3 separate regions of the Homo sapiens genome follow, and all the other regions are linked to region 1. Evidence: promoter capture Hi-C in 16 types of primary human blood cells and fetal thymus (Javierre and others, 2016). All regions are on one chromosome and are shown on one strand. The core of a region is centred on a gene start or on the middle of the fragment in contact, and the rest is flanking DNA. Distances in the headings are between cores, read along the strand shown. Region 1 holds the start of PHF3 (PHD finger protein 3). Region 2 has its middle 2.6 kb from the start of RAB23. Region 3 holds the start of LMBRD1 (LMBR1 domain containing 1).

Region 1 (4,399 bases), core at 818-3,317:
TCCATGGTCTTAATCTCTGCCAGGCTCAGTTTTCTTGGGTCAATGTTTTGCAAGATCCAAATTTTATCACTTTTCCTTCTTTGATAATTTTTTAGTTAAATACAAATACACTGTCAGTTTTAGTCATTATCAATTACTCTGTCTTGTTTTCCTACCAAATTTAATTTTCCCAAGTTAATTTGGAGTTTTCAATGTTACTGATACAATCTGATCTTCCAATAAGTCCTGTGTGCAGTTATAGCTGTTGCCAGTATTATTATGCTGGTTCTTTCTTCTACTAACCTTTCTATGAATTGGGTATAAGATAAACAGTTCGTGTTTACATCTGGAAGCAAAAAGCAAAGACCATTAGTGGACAAATGTGAATCTGGGCACTTGGCTGGTTCAAAATAACAGAATCAAAACATCATGCCTATGGCAAGCTTGTTGACTTTTTAAGGATCAGAAATCTTTGCTTTGTAAATGTGACAGTCTTATGATTCTTACATTTTCTTTTAATCTCCATTTTGTTTTATCTTAAATTTATTAAAACTTCTCTGAGAAGGTAAGTTTTCCTCAGCCCTTCTAAGGGATTTTCCAGCTAGTGGTCTCCGTCATCAAGTTCTACTCTGTTGAATTCCTTCGGGGTTGGATTTTGTTTATAACAATAATTTTACTTTTTCTGAACGCCCTTTTAAAACGTCACACTGAGATCCACCAGAAGAGTAAGAATAACATTAGGCTTGTTTTTATAATTCATCCCAGACATCCCAAGTGAGAATTAAAAAAAAAAATTACTCATTTCTATTTTCCTTTCTCAAAAACACATTACAAAAAGATTGTAAAACAAAGTCTTGAGGGATTGATTAGTCAAGACAGGGGGTGAAACTCTTAAGAATCCAGTGGAATCAGGACAACCCAAACTTCCTTTGTAGAAGAGCATTTGCTATTAAGAGTGCTTAAAATATCAGAAGACTAGAGAGAGGAAAGAACAGATCTTCACCACATGCCTGTGACTTATTCTTCCACCCTGCACTAATCTTACAATGTGGGCTGCGGTTGGTCTAAAGCTTAAATCAACAAGTACTGTAAAGGTTTTAGAACAGTGCAGACCACACAGTAAGGTGCTCAGCAGGTACTGGCTGAATACTGTAATAGTCCCTGTAGATAAAAGCCACAAACCCTGTCCCTAAGTAGCTCCTTTTGGTTGGAGTGACTGACAAGCAACAATTACTTCACAGCGCTTATTAAGGGCTGAGATAGGGGTTAGCTCAAGTGTCTGTGGAAGCAGACCAGTGGGTCTCAAACTTTTTTTGTCTCTGGACCTCTACACAATATTTGTTACCACAAATAATGTATTTATGAAAAGCATATTTTCCAAATTAATAAAAGGGTGATATCTAAAATTTCTGCAGATTTCCTCAATGTCTGGCTTAATAGAAGATGGCTGGATTCTCTTATCTGTTTCTGCATTGAATCAGCTGCTATATGCTGTTTTGGTTGAAGGGTGGGAAGAAAATTTGGCCTTAGACACATGCTCCTGGCAAAGGAATGGAGGCTCTACTGAAAGGTCTTGGCGACCCCTCAGGGAAACCTGGGACCACATTCTGAAGACTGCTTACTGGATACCAAGAATGTTTCTTGGAGGTAGCAATTTGAGTCCTGAGGTAGATCAGCCATGTAGGGTGAGGGTAACGGAGGTAGTTAATGGTAAGGCTGCTGTGCCGAGCCAGCACAGATATTTGGGCAGAGGGCTCATCTACTCCATCCTATTCTACCATTCTTGAACTCACAGTCAATTAATAAAAAGTACCTGGGGTTGGGGAGCTGCGCATCAATATTATATTAACTGTGAAGCCTTAGTGCTTACTACGGTCGAGAAAAAGCGCTCCTCTGATTCGCCCCTCCCGGCGGCGCGGAGGTGTGAGCTAGAAGCCCGCAGGCGGTGCCGCGTCCTCCGAAGACAGGGAGGGGCGCGGCAACGCCGGGAAGCGCTGCAGCCCGGGGCCCCACGGAGGCGCGGCGCTCGAGGCCCTAAAGCGCGCAGGCGCGGCAGCGACGCAGGCCGCGGCCCCCGGAACGGTAAACAGTGGGGTCACGTGACACGGCCCCTCTCCAGCTCCCGCGCCGCCGCCGCACGCCGATGGCTGCGGGGTCTCGCGCCGTCGCACCGTCCCCACGCGGCAAGCGACCTTCGGGCTCAGGGCGGCGGCGGCTGCAACGAGGATTAGGAGGGCGGCGCGGAAGCCAAGAATAGTGTCGTCAGCAGCAGCCATTTGGTCCCAGGAGGAAAAGAGGCTGTGGCAGCGACGCCGACGTCCTGCGCGTACCCCCTCTCCGCGGCACCCACCGGGCCCCCTCCTCCTCCTCTTCGGCGGCGGCAGCGTCCACCATCTTCCTCTTGCTGCCAGTGGTAGCGCTCGTCTGGCGGAGCTGGGTGAGTTGCGGCTGTGGCCGCGGCCAGGGAGACGGGCAATCCTCCCCTCCCCCATCCCCTTCCACACGCACAGCGCCTCCGCGGGCCTCTCCGCCCCTCCCGCGGCGGACTCTCCGCGCTTTTCTCCCGCGCAGCCGAGAGATCGCCTCTCGGGCCTCTTGCGCAACGTCCTCGGCCTACCTGGGCCGCGCCGCTGGCGCCTGTGGACCATTTGGACCGCGGGCTGGGGAGGGAGTCGCAGCGACGCGGTCGCCAGGCGGAGGGTCGGGACCACGGCCTCTCTCCCGACCACTGGTACCCAGCCGTCTGCTGCGAGGGCGCCCCGCCGCCGCTGAGGCGCGGGCGCGCAGGCCCGAGGCACGGCGGGCGCTGCCTGGAAGGCCCGTCTCGCAGGCCCCCGGATCCGGCCGTTGGGGCCTCTTCCTTCTCAGGGAGCCCCAGCATGGAGCTTTGGGCCTTGGTTTCGGGAAACTGGGACTGGCCCTGGCTGCTAGGCTGCTCCCTGCTGCTGCTTTTTGGAGATGAGAGTTGCTCTTCCATTTATCCTCCAGTTACCGCGCGCTTTTGTGCCCGGGACTCAAACTGTGGACTCCTTTTGCTTAGTTTGAAATGAGAAGCCTAGACTCTTGCCTTCCGATAATACATGTAATTTAATGAACCACTTGTCGATACGTACGTGTTAATGGTGCTAAATAACTGATCACCTGACACGGGGGGCGGGGGCGGTGCGGAGAGTAGAAAGGAAGAGAATGTTGATATCGCGCACGGAGTCCTGTGTCCCTCCTTTCCCTCAGGATGTGTTGCCGGGTTAGGTGACCTTTTTCCATCTTTGGGCTTTTAAATGCCAATTCCTAGAGACTAGATTGGGGTGGTTATTAGTGCTTTCCAGTAGTCACGCGTAGAATATGTTCATGGATTAATGTTAAGTGGCAACACTGCTTTAATATTCTAGTCCTAATCTGCATTACATGTAGCGATATTTAATTTAAAAAGAATAATCGATTATTGAGGCTTCTCTAAATACTAACTTTACTATCTTATTTTAAGCTAAATTTAAAAACCAATGCAGTAAACTCTGTAGGGAGTACTTAAACAGTACGTTGTTGTATTTAGTTACTATTTTGGGGTCGAACTTGTCTTCCCTTTGACAAAATGATTGTTAAAGGCCTAACAAAACTACGCCTCCATTATTCATTTTTCGATTCCTGAATGAAGTGTTTGGAACTGTGAAAATATTTGTAGAAAAAGATGTATGTTTGTGTTAGAGCGACATGTTGAGTCAAAGCACCAGAAACTTTTCTATTGTAGCATACTTATGTTTTTGAATTTATAGCTCCCTTCCACAGCACAAAAAGGTGTTGTGTAAAGATTATTGTTATTTTAAATAGTAATTTTAAAGTTTAGTTATCACTTAGACCTTTTCCCCACTAATTTTTCTCTTCATTCATCTGTTTACTGGCTATATATTACCATAATGATTCTTTCCTTCATCATCGTCATTATCACTGTTATTATTATTTTACAATACATACTTCATTTTCTGGTGATAGTAGCAGAGTTTAGTGGCAGACTTTTAGGAGTGATGATTCCTCTGATTGAGCCACACAATCAGTCCCGAAACGGGCTACTTTTATGTAAAAAGATTACAACTTTAGATTTTAAGCTTTTTCAGATAGCTGTACTCGGTAATTTGTCAAAATGATAAAAATGAGCCAGTGATGGGACCAAAGTTTGCCTCTTATTTACATTTTTTATAGGTTCATTTATTGAAGAATAGAAAAATATAGTTTATTTTACTGCTTTTGCATACACGTGAATTATGCATTCTCTCTTGTTGGGATAGACTTCAGATAACTTTATCATGTTGATCTTATGGTATACTTATATGTTGCATAATCAGAAAAGTCACCTCTGAGAAGTGGTCTATGTAAATGTAGGTAAAAAATTGGTTTGGTCAGATGCACATTTCAAGATAGAAAAATC
Region 2 (4,399 bases), core at 1,065-3,564, 6.4 Mb before region 1:
CAAAAGCAATCTCAACTTTGCTTCAGTTGTTTTTATATTTCAAAATAAAATAGAATAGAAAAAAAAGATGGAAAATACCAAGTGTTGGCCAGGATGTAGAGTAACTGCATTCTTCTACTTTGCTGCTGGAATGTAAACTGGAACAACTCCTTTGAAAAACAGTTTGGGACTGTCTGCAAAAGGTGCATACCCTATGGCCCCGCAGTTCCACGCCTGCATATAGAGCAAAGAGAAACGAATACTTAGGGTGCACGGACAGGCAGGTATCAGAATGTTCGTAGCTGCATTTATTGTAATAATTCCTTAATGAGAATAACCCAAAAGACCATCAACAATAGAATAAATTAATGAAATTACACAGAGTTCATATAATGAAACACTATACAGCAACGCAAAAAAGCATCTGCAATTACAGGCAATAACGTGAATCAACTGGGGAAACCTAATGCCCAGCATAAAAAGACAACAAAAGTACACATGGCATAAGTCCATTTCTATAAACTACAAAAACAGAAGAACTAAGAGGCTCAAAGTTAGCATAATGGTTACCTTGGTGGGCAGGGGATAGTGACTGGAAGGAGTTAGCGACTAGAAGAGGGGCTTCCAGTTAGCAACTGGAAGAGGGGCTTCCTTCTAGTGAGGTTCTCTCCGTTGATTTTGGCGCTAGTTATAAATGCGTGTCCATTTGTGAAAATTCAAGCTGTACTCTTATGCACATTTTTCTGTATGTGAATTATAATTCACACTTAATAATTTTAAAAATTAGTGGAGATTATTTTACCTATAATAGCAATAGTATTTGTAAGAAATTTAATATCAAGTAGCTAACAGATTTATCTCTAGGATTTGGTTGGCAGTATCTCTTAAACTTGAGTAACGTACTGATGCCCTTTCTGAGAAAAGAAAAAAAACAATTAAAAAGTTGGCAAATGACTTGAATAGACATTTCTCCAAAGAAGGTATACAAATGGCCGATGAGCACATGAAAAGAGACTCAAGGTCACTAATCATGAGGGAAATGCAACTCAAAACCATGAGATACAACTTCACACTCATTAAAATGATGATTATAAACAAAGCAGAACAGAAAATAAATATGAGTGTTGGCAAGGATGTGGAAAAATTATAACCTTTGTGTGCTGCTGGTGGGAATGTAAAATGGTACGGCCACTATGGAAAATTGTATGGTTCATCAGAACATTAAAAATAGAATTATCGTATGATTAAATAATTCCACTTCTGAGTATATATTCAAAAGAATTGAAAACAGGGACTCAAAAAAAAATTTGTACAACCATGTTTATAGCAGCATTATTCACAATAGCCAAAGGGTGGAAGCAACCCAAATGTCCATCAATGGATGAATGGATGAACAAAATGTAGTATATACATGCAATAAAATATTATTCAGCCTTAAAAAAGGAGGGACCCAGGTGTGGCGAGGTATCCCTGTAATCCCAGCTACTTAGGAGGCTGAGATGGGAGGATCACTTGAATCCAGGAGTTCAAGACCAGCCTGGGCAAATCCTGTCTCAAAAATAAAAGAGAGAGAGGGAAATTCTGACACATGTTATAGCATGGATGAAGCTTGAAGACATTATGCCTAGTCGCAAAAGGACAAATGCTGTATGATTCAACTTATATAAGGTACATAGAGTAGTCAAATTCATAGAGACAGTTGGGGGGTGGGAAGTGGTTGTGGGAAAGGAAGGGCAGGTGGGAATGGGGAGTTACTGTTTTATGTCTACAGTTCTAGCTTTGCAAGATGAAGAAAGTCTGGAGATAGATGGTGGTGATGGTTGCACAACGATGTGAATAAACTTGATGCTCTTGAACTTTATACTTAAAAATGGCTAAAAATGGTAAATTTTATGTTTTATGTATATCTTGCCAAATTTCTTTTTAATGGGAAAAAAAAAAAAGAAAATCTTAGAGGGTCTCAGGGAGTACTTCTGGGATCCAAATTTGAGAAAAACTTCCTGAAAGGGGGTTCCCCCAAAATCATTTCTTTCCTCCCCACTTTTCCATTTCCTTGGGATTGTTGGACATTGAAGGAGATCCAGAATATGCCACCCCAAAACATGCCACTTTGACACAAGCATTATTTGGAGTTGAAGGCAATTAAGAAACAGCAGAACAGAAGAAACACTCTGCTTTTCCTATTTCTGCCTAAAAGCAGGACATAAATTTCCCTTTGTGAAGTTGTTCCTCCTCCCCATCCCACACTAGGAGGAGGAGATTCCTATCACCAGAGCACCAACTTGAGTCATATGGCAAACCTTGCAAAATAACCCTTGTCTTCCAATAGTTTCCCTCATATAGTTTACTCGGCCACAATTTACCACCTTCACAAGTCCCACCCCTTTTTCCTTTGTCTTATCACTTCTCCACAATTTATCACCTTTTAAAAAAATGGTATATAAGCTCTTAGGCCTAACTGCTTTTTGGGGTTTTCACTTCCTTTCTGTGAGGCCCCCCATGTGCATATGAAATAAACCTTTTCTCCTGTTTATCTGTCATTTGTCAATTTAATTTGCAGGCTTCTGCTACTGAACTTACAAGAGTAGAGAAAAAGTGTTTATCCTCCCTGCAGACATGCTCAGTGCAATTAAAGTCTACTTTTTATTTGACTTGAGGCTGCTCTCAAGGACACAGCAGAGATTCTCATGCTCTCACTGAAGGCAGTGAAATAATGAAAGCCTGCATGGAAACCTGGCCTTTTAAATCATGTAGTTGTGCTATAGTAGAAATAGCAACAGAATTAACCTAAAAGGTTTTGAAAGAAATTTTACCTGCAGTGACTAGAAATGAGTTTCACAAAATTATTTTAAGGAAAACATTCTGAAAAGTTAGTTATTAAGTCATTAAATGATTGTTTGAATCTAGTACCTCCACTGATCCAGCAAAAAATGTCCATTTGTTCCCTTGCTCGTTCTTTCATTGTGTCTGACTCTAATGAACTGAACAGTGTCCAAGGATCATGAATTGTAGCTGAGTAGAAAGAAAAACAGAAAAATCAGAAAATATTTTCTTCCAAGAAAGAAAGCTTTGAAAATTTTACCACTTAGAATATAAGTCTGCATATACATATGAATGCATATGTGGCCATCTGGAAAAAACTAGTAGAAATCACAGTATTTGGCTAGACAATAATAATCTACTGTTCTTCAGATTCAAACAGATCATGCTGGAAAAAAAATTTTTTCTAGTACTTTCTAGGCAGACATTAGAGTACTGATTCAGTTTTTCTGTTGCTTAATAACCTTGGATCTTAGTATCCTCATCTATAGTAAGGAGTTACCCACCTTACAAGGTCATTTATCCATTAAAAAAAATACATATTGTGCCAAGGACTGTGCTGAACATTGGGTATTCAGTAATAGACAAAAGGCAGATGGTTTGTGTCCTCTGGGAGCTTATAATGTGTTAAGGGAGACCAAAAAAGAAAGTATACAAATACACACATATGCACACATATACACAAATAAGTGATTACATACCCTTAGACATTATGTGAAAGTAAATAACTGGTATGATGGAAGCATGTAAGAGGGAGCCCTAATTTATGTTGGAGAACCAAGGGAAGGCCTTTCTGATACAGTGATTTTTAAGCTGTTATCTGAAAGATAAATGAGTTTGGTGAAGAATAGACAGAAAAAGCCTTTAAGCAGAGACAGCAGGAAGTACGATGGCCTGAGGCAGCAAACAATTCACTGGGTTTGAATAATTGAAAGGGAGCCAGTGTGCAGGAGTGAGGTGGAAAGCGGTATGTAAAAAATAAAGAACAGTGGTGAGGGAAGCAGGGGCCAGATCATGAAGACCTTGCAGGTCATATTAGGTAATTTGGATTATATCTCAAGTATATTGGGAAGCCATTGGAGGATTTTTTAGTGCACAGACTAGGAGATCCACTGGACAGTTTTAAAAAATTCCTCTGACTGCTATCTAGGGAAAACATAGAGTAGTGGAAAATGGGAGAGCAATGGAAGGCCGGTTCAGGCAAGAGATGATGGAGGGTTAGACTGAGATGGTTACAGGGGTGATACAGAAAAGTGCATTTGTTTTTAATCTTGGAAGTAGAACCTATAGGATTTGGCTATGGTGTAGGAAAAAGACGGAATGTAAAGAGTGACTTGCAGGTTTCTTGAATGACTGCCTTGCTGAGATTGGTCACTAAGGGACTAGTTATAACCCCTCACAGTGTGAGTCGGGGAATAATCTGTTCATTCTAAATTCCTTTTTGTTTTGTCCTTGATTGTTCTTGTATTATGGTCTAGTGTGTTCCAGCATATACACTTCTAGATTTAGGGCCCTTACTAACAAAGAATAATTAGAAAATAAAAATCTTTTTTTTTTCTTTACTGCCCAAGTCTTTCTCATATATATATTTACTTTTGTT
Region 3 (4,399 bases), core at 1,199-3,698, 6.2 Mb after region 1:
CAAATGAACAAAGGGAATCTATCACTTAAAGAAAAACTGACAGTATTTGATACCAATGATAATTATGAGTCAAACTTTCAAATGAAAATTGGATTTTGAAAGACTTACATCCACAAGTATGAGCTTGACAACTCTTCAATACTTAGAATTTTCAGAGACATTTCTGACAAGATCAGTTGTAATTTAATGAAATGTGATATTTTGATATTGTGTAATGAAACGTATCCATATTTAAAAGATGTGCATAACTCAGTAAACCAACATTTTCTAAGTGGCCATGGCATCATGTTATAAAACCATGCATGGGTAAAAGAGCCTTTCAAAGTGCAAGATGGGCTAATGGATTTTAATGTAACAATGAATGAAATGCTCATTGATAGGGTTTCAGATTCCACCTTGCAGCTGACATGAATCTTCCACTTGTTGAGCTTTGGTGTAGTGTCAAAAAACATCCACAATTATCTGAAAAACGCTCCTCTGTTTCTGACTACCTATCATTGCAGCTGTATTTTCTCCATACACTTCGACTAAAATAACATACCCCAAAAGACTGAATGTAGAAGGCAACAAAAGAAACCAGCCTTTCTTCTAATAAACCAGGATTTAAAGAGATTTGCAGAAATTTAAACAAAAGTCCTTCTTCCTAATGCTTTTATCCACGACAACATTCAATTCTGATTTTATTTGTCCTTGCTGTAATATTGCCAACTTAAATGGCCTCTCTTCTTCATCTATCCAAACTCTACCACAATTCTCATTTTCTTCCAATATTGTTGTCTATTCTCTTAAGTCCTGCTTTATTTATAGTCACACTTTGGCTTTCGGTCCATAAAATACATGTTTCAAGAATTTCAGTTTTCTCACTTATCTTCAGGCCCTCTTTAAAGCCGTATTTTGTTTGGTTTACATCCTCTTACAATTCACACCACTTCTGTACCGTAAATGTTTATTAATTTATAACTGCCAAGATAGTCTCACGTAACTTTCATACATTACATGCTTATTTATTTTTTTCTAAACAAACTAAATCTGATGGACTGGAAAAGCCAGGGGGCTCTCCAAATACAGGACTGGGTGGCTGCAGAGACCACAGTCAACCTTTAGGGTTTCATTTCCTCCAAGAGAGGACTAACATGTTCCAGGGTAAAGGCAGTGTTTTTATCTGTGACAGTGATGGCAGTAACAAGAGGATCCTTTTCTTAAATTTTCACACCATTCTTTTCTTTTATTTTCTTTTTTTAGTCTCTACTGCAAAAATCTACTAGAACATACTACATAGGTACCAGACACCAACTGGATCTGACAATTAAAGTAAAACCAAACAAGCCTGATTTCCAGAACTGGAGGTTTTTGTTTTGCAATGCAAAAAGGTCAAAATACGTGAGAACAGAAAGTAACTACAGCCTCGGACGATGAGAAAAGAGAAGATTTGAGAAGGTAGAGAAGTTATGAAAGGAAATAAATTGAACTCCCAAATAAACCAAAGGGTTTTAATATGAACAGGGAAGTAATAGCCAGGCCACTCTGAGACATTTCTATCTACACTTTGCTCACTGAATATGCAGAAATAAGATCGTTGGAAAAGAAAGCACCTGAGGTCAGACAGGTAGTAGTATATACTCCGATACTGGTAATAAAGAGGGCTACAGCTCCGCCCTCCACAGGTATCTACACCAATCAAAAAAAGATTAGAAGAGAATGTGACACCTGGAAGTCAGAACGAGCAACTCACGTCATCAAGGCAGAATCACACAATGGGCACAGAGGTTGGAGACTCACTAGCCCCAAGGGTAGGGAAAATGAGGGAAAAAACATACAGAGAAGGTGACAAGTAAACAACGCCAGCGCCTACTTAACTTGCAAAGATCCAGCGCTGCCGCCCCACACCGTGTGACAATGTTTTACAGGGGACGAAAGGCCACCACATACTTCTCAACCCCGAGGGTCTCTTCCGCCCCCAAACCCCACCGGCCCCATTGCCCAAGTCAGCGATGACGGCAAGAGCTTCCAAAAAGGACCCTGCAACCCTAGACGTCATCGGTGAAATGACAGCAAAAGAGACCGGAAATCGACACCCCCCTGCCCCCGCCGCCCGCCCAAGCCCCCAACACTAAGGAGCCCTCCACAGTCCAAGCTAAAAGCGGGGCGGGGCGAAGAGGGTCTCCGGGGCCCGGAGAGGCCAACTGCAGGGCCTGCCCCTCCCTTCCTCCCCCAGTCCAAACATGGGGAAAACTCCAAGCGCCTCCCCTACCAGTAGTAAGAGGCCGAATATGCACCAGCCGATCACCAGCTCCGCCGAGGCCGCGCCAGAAGTCGCCATCTTCGCTTCCGGTCCAGACCAACCTGAGCGCCCGGGGTGGGGAAAGGGGAGGGGGAAAGGGGAGAGAGCGCGAGATATACTGCACCCGCGCACCCTAAAGGTTAAAGGGGCGGAGGGGGAGGAGCAAGTGGTTGCCAAGGAGACTGGACCCACTAGCGTCCCCTGGCGGCGAGCCGAGCGGGGGCGGGGCAGCAAGGACTGCTCAGGGGCGGGGCGCGTGCGGACGCAGTGACATCACCACGCTGCCCTCGCTGGCTTCCCTGCAAGCTGAGATGTGGGAGGGCTGCAGAGCAGGGTGTTGGCTCATAGCTGGGCAACCTATTGAGATATTTGACTCAGCCTAAGTTGATAGACTAGAACAGCAAGGGAACTCCACAAAGAATGGGCTAGGTGGACCTGGAGATCCAAGTCAATTTTAGAGGTTTATACTTCTTCACCAAAAGGAAGTTTGGCCCTCGTGTACAAGGTGGAATGTGTGTGATTAGCAGAACTCCTTACCAGGTTGCAAGAATGGCTGATGTCAGGCCTCTGAGCCCAAGCTAAGCCATCATATCCCCAGTGACCTTCACGTATACATCCAGCTGGCCTGAAGCAACTGAAGATCCACAGAAGTGAAAATAGCTTAGCTGATGACATTCCACCATTGTGATTTGTTTCTGCCCCACCCTAACTGATCAATGTTCTTTATAATCTCCCCCACCCTTAAGAAGTTTCTTTGTAATTCTCCCCACCCTTGAGAATGTACTTTGTGAGATCTACCCCCTACCCCCAAAACATTGCTCTTCACTCCACCTCCTATCCGAAAAACTGTAAGAACCAATGATAATCCCACCACCCTTTGCCGACTCTCTTTTCGGACTCAGCCCGCCTGCACCCATGTGAAATAAACAGCCATGTTGCTCACACAAAGCCTGTTTGGTGGTCTCTTCACACGGACGCATGAGACAGCTGACTCTGAATAAAAGTTGACTAGCTGCCCAAATCACTCTAATTTACTGGCACTGGTGCCCAGCCGGGATAACTGGTTGGCTGGACATGAACTTATCACATGATGTTATAGCCTTTCTATTCAGATGTATGCATGCCTGTGAATTTCCATGATAGCTTTGTATGTAAAGGTATATGCATCAGCAAACAAAACACACTGCCATAGGCCCACAATGAAGAAGAAGGAGGAAACTCTTGGGATGGCTTACCTGAGTCCACAGGGAGGAAACTCTTGGGATGGCTTACCTGAGTCCACAGGGGTGTGAGTGCATGTTTCACCACTGTGATGTAGTCAAGAAACAACTCTGAGAAAAAATACCATCATCTTTTTCCAATGTATTATGTGGTGATGAGTTATGCTCTACCTATAATCTACTTCCGGCTGGAAGCCTGAGGGAAAAAATAGGATGGTCCTTCCTGCCTGGACAGAATAAGAAGGGAATAGGGGAGAATACAGTTTTAACTTGAACTGGTACCATCATAAGCTGGCTTTAAGCCCTCTAGACCTGCAAATGTTTGAATTTCACTCTTTCTTCCTAATAATTCATATCCCTGGAGACCTCTGTCATAGCTTCCTTAAAGTGAAGAGAGGTATCGCTTCCAGGTTGATATCTCTATTCCAGATTGTATAGAGCACCCTTGACATAAGTAACTACTTCTTAGAAAAAGATTCTGTTTACATTTCAAAAGGAATCATGCCAAAAGGGACCAGATGTTCACCTAATCAATAGAGACTGCACCCAACCAGATAACGACATAACCAGGCACACTCTTTTATTATTATTATTATTATTATTATTATTATTATTATACTTTAAGTTCTAGGGTACATGTGCACAACGTGCAGATTTGTTACATATGCATACATGTGCCATGTTGAGGTGCTGCACCCATTAACTAGTCTTACATCAGGTATATCTCCTAATGCTATCCCTCCCCACTTTCCCCCACCCTACAACAGGGCCCAGTGTGTGATGTTCCCCTTCCTGTGTCCAAGTGTTCTCATTGTTCAATTCCCACCTATGAGTGAGAACATGTGGTGTTTGGTTTTCTGTCCTTGCAATAGTTTGCTGAGAATGATGTTTTCCAGCT

The links. The method cuts DNA at HindIII sites, captures the fragments that hold promoters and counts their contacts. A CHiCAGO score of 5 or more calls a contact.
Region 2: a fragment that was not itself captured here is called in contact with the fragment with the promoter of PHF3 in region 1 in 1 of 17 cell types (naive CD8 T cells); the score reaches 5.7 in naive CD8 T cells.
Region 3: the fragment with the promoter of LMBRD1 here is called in contact with the fragment with the promoter of PHF3 in region 1 in 3 of 17 cell types (non-activated CD4 T cells, naive CD8 T cells and activated CD4 T cells); the score reaches 12.4 in non-activated CD4 T cells.

Annotation. Positions count from the first base shown.
Region 1 is chr6:63,633,735-63,638,133 of GRCh38, forward strand. PHF3 (PHD finger protein 3) reads left to right here and starts at 2,068. Exons shown (of 16, transcript NM_001370348.2): 1 at 2,068-2,416. RefSeq lists enhancers at 756-1,293, 1,825-2,645 and silencers at 1,863-2,222, 2,663-2,842. The HindIII fragment of the contact is 3,030 bases long and covers 1,048-4,077 here.
Region 2 is chr6:57,222,727-57,227,125 of GRCh38, forward strand. It overlaps a transcript of PRIM2 not described here. Among named protein-coding and RNA genes, the nearest start is that of RAB23, 2.6 kb to the left of the region's middle. The HindIII fragment of the contact is 1,459 bases long and covers 1,586-3,044 here.
Region 3 is chr6:69,794,562-69,798,960 of GRCh38, forward strand. It overlaps LMBRD1 (LMBR1 domain containing 1), which reads right to left and starts at 2,449. Exons shown (of 16, transcript NM_018368.4): 1 at 2,252-2,449. The coding sequence starts at 2,320. RefSeq lists enhancers at 1,400-1,956, 1,781-1,830, 1,957-2,512, 2,141-2,370. The HindIII fragment of the contact is 19,066 bases long and covers 1-4,399 here.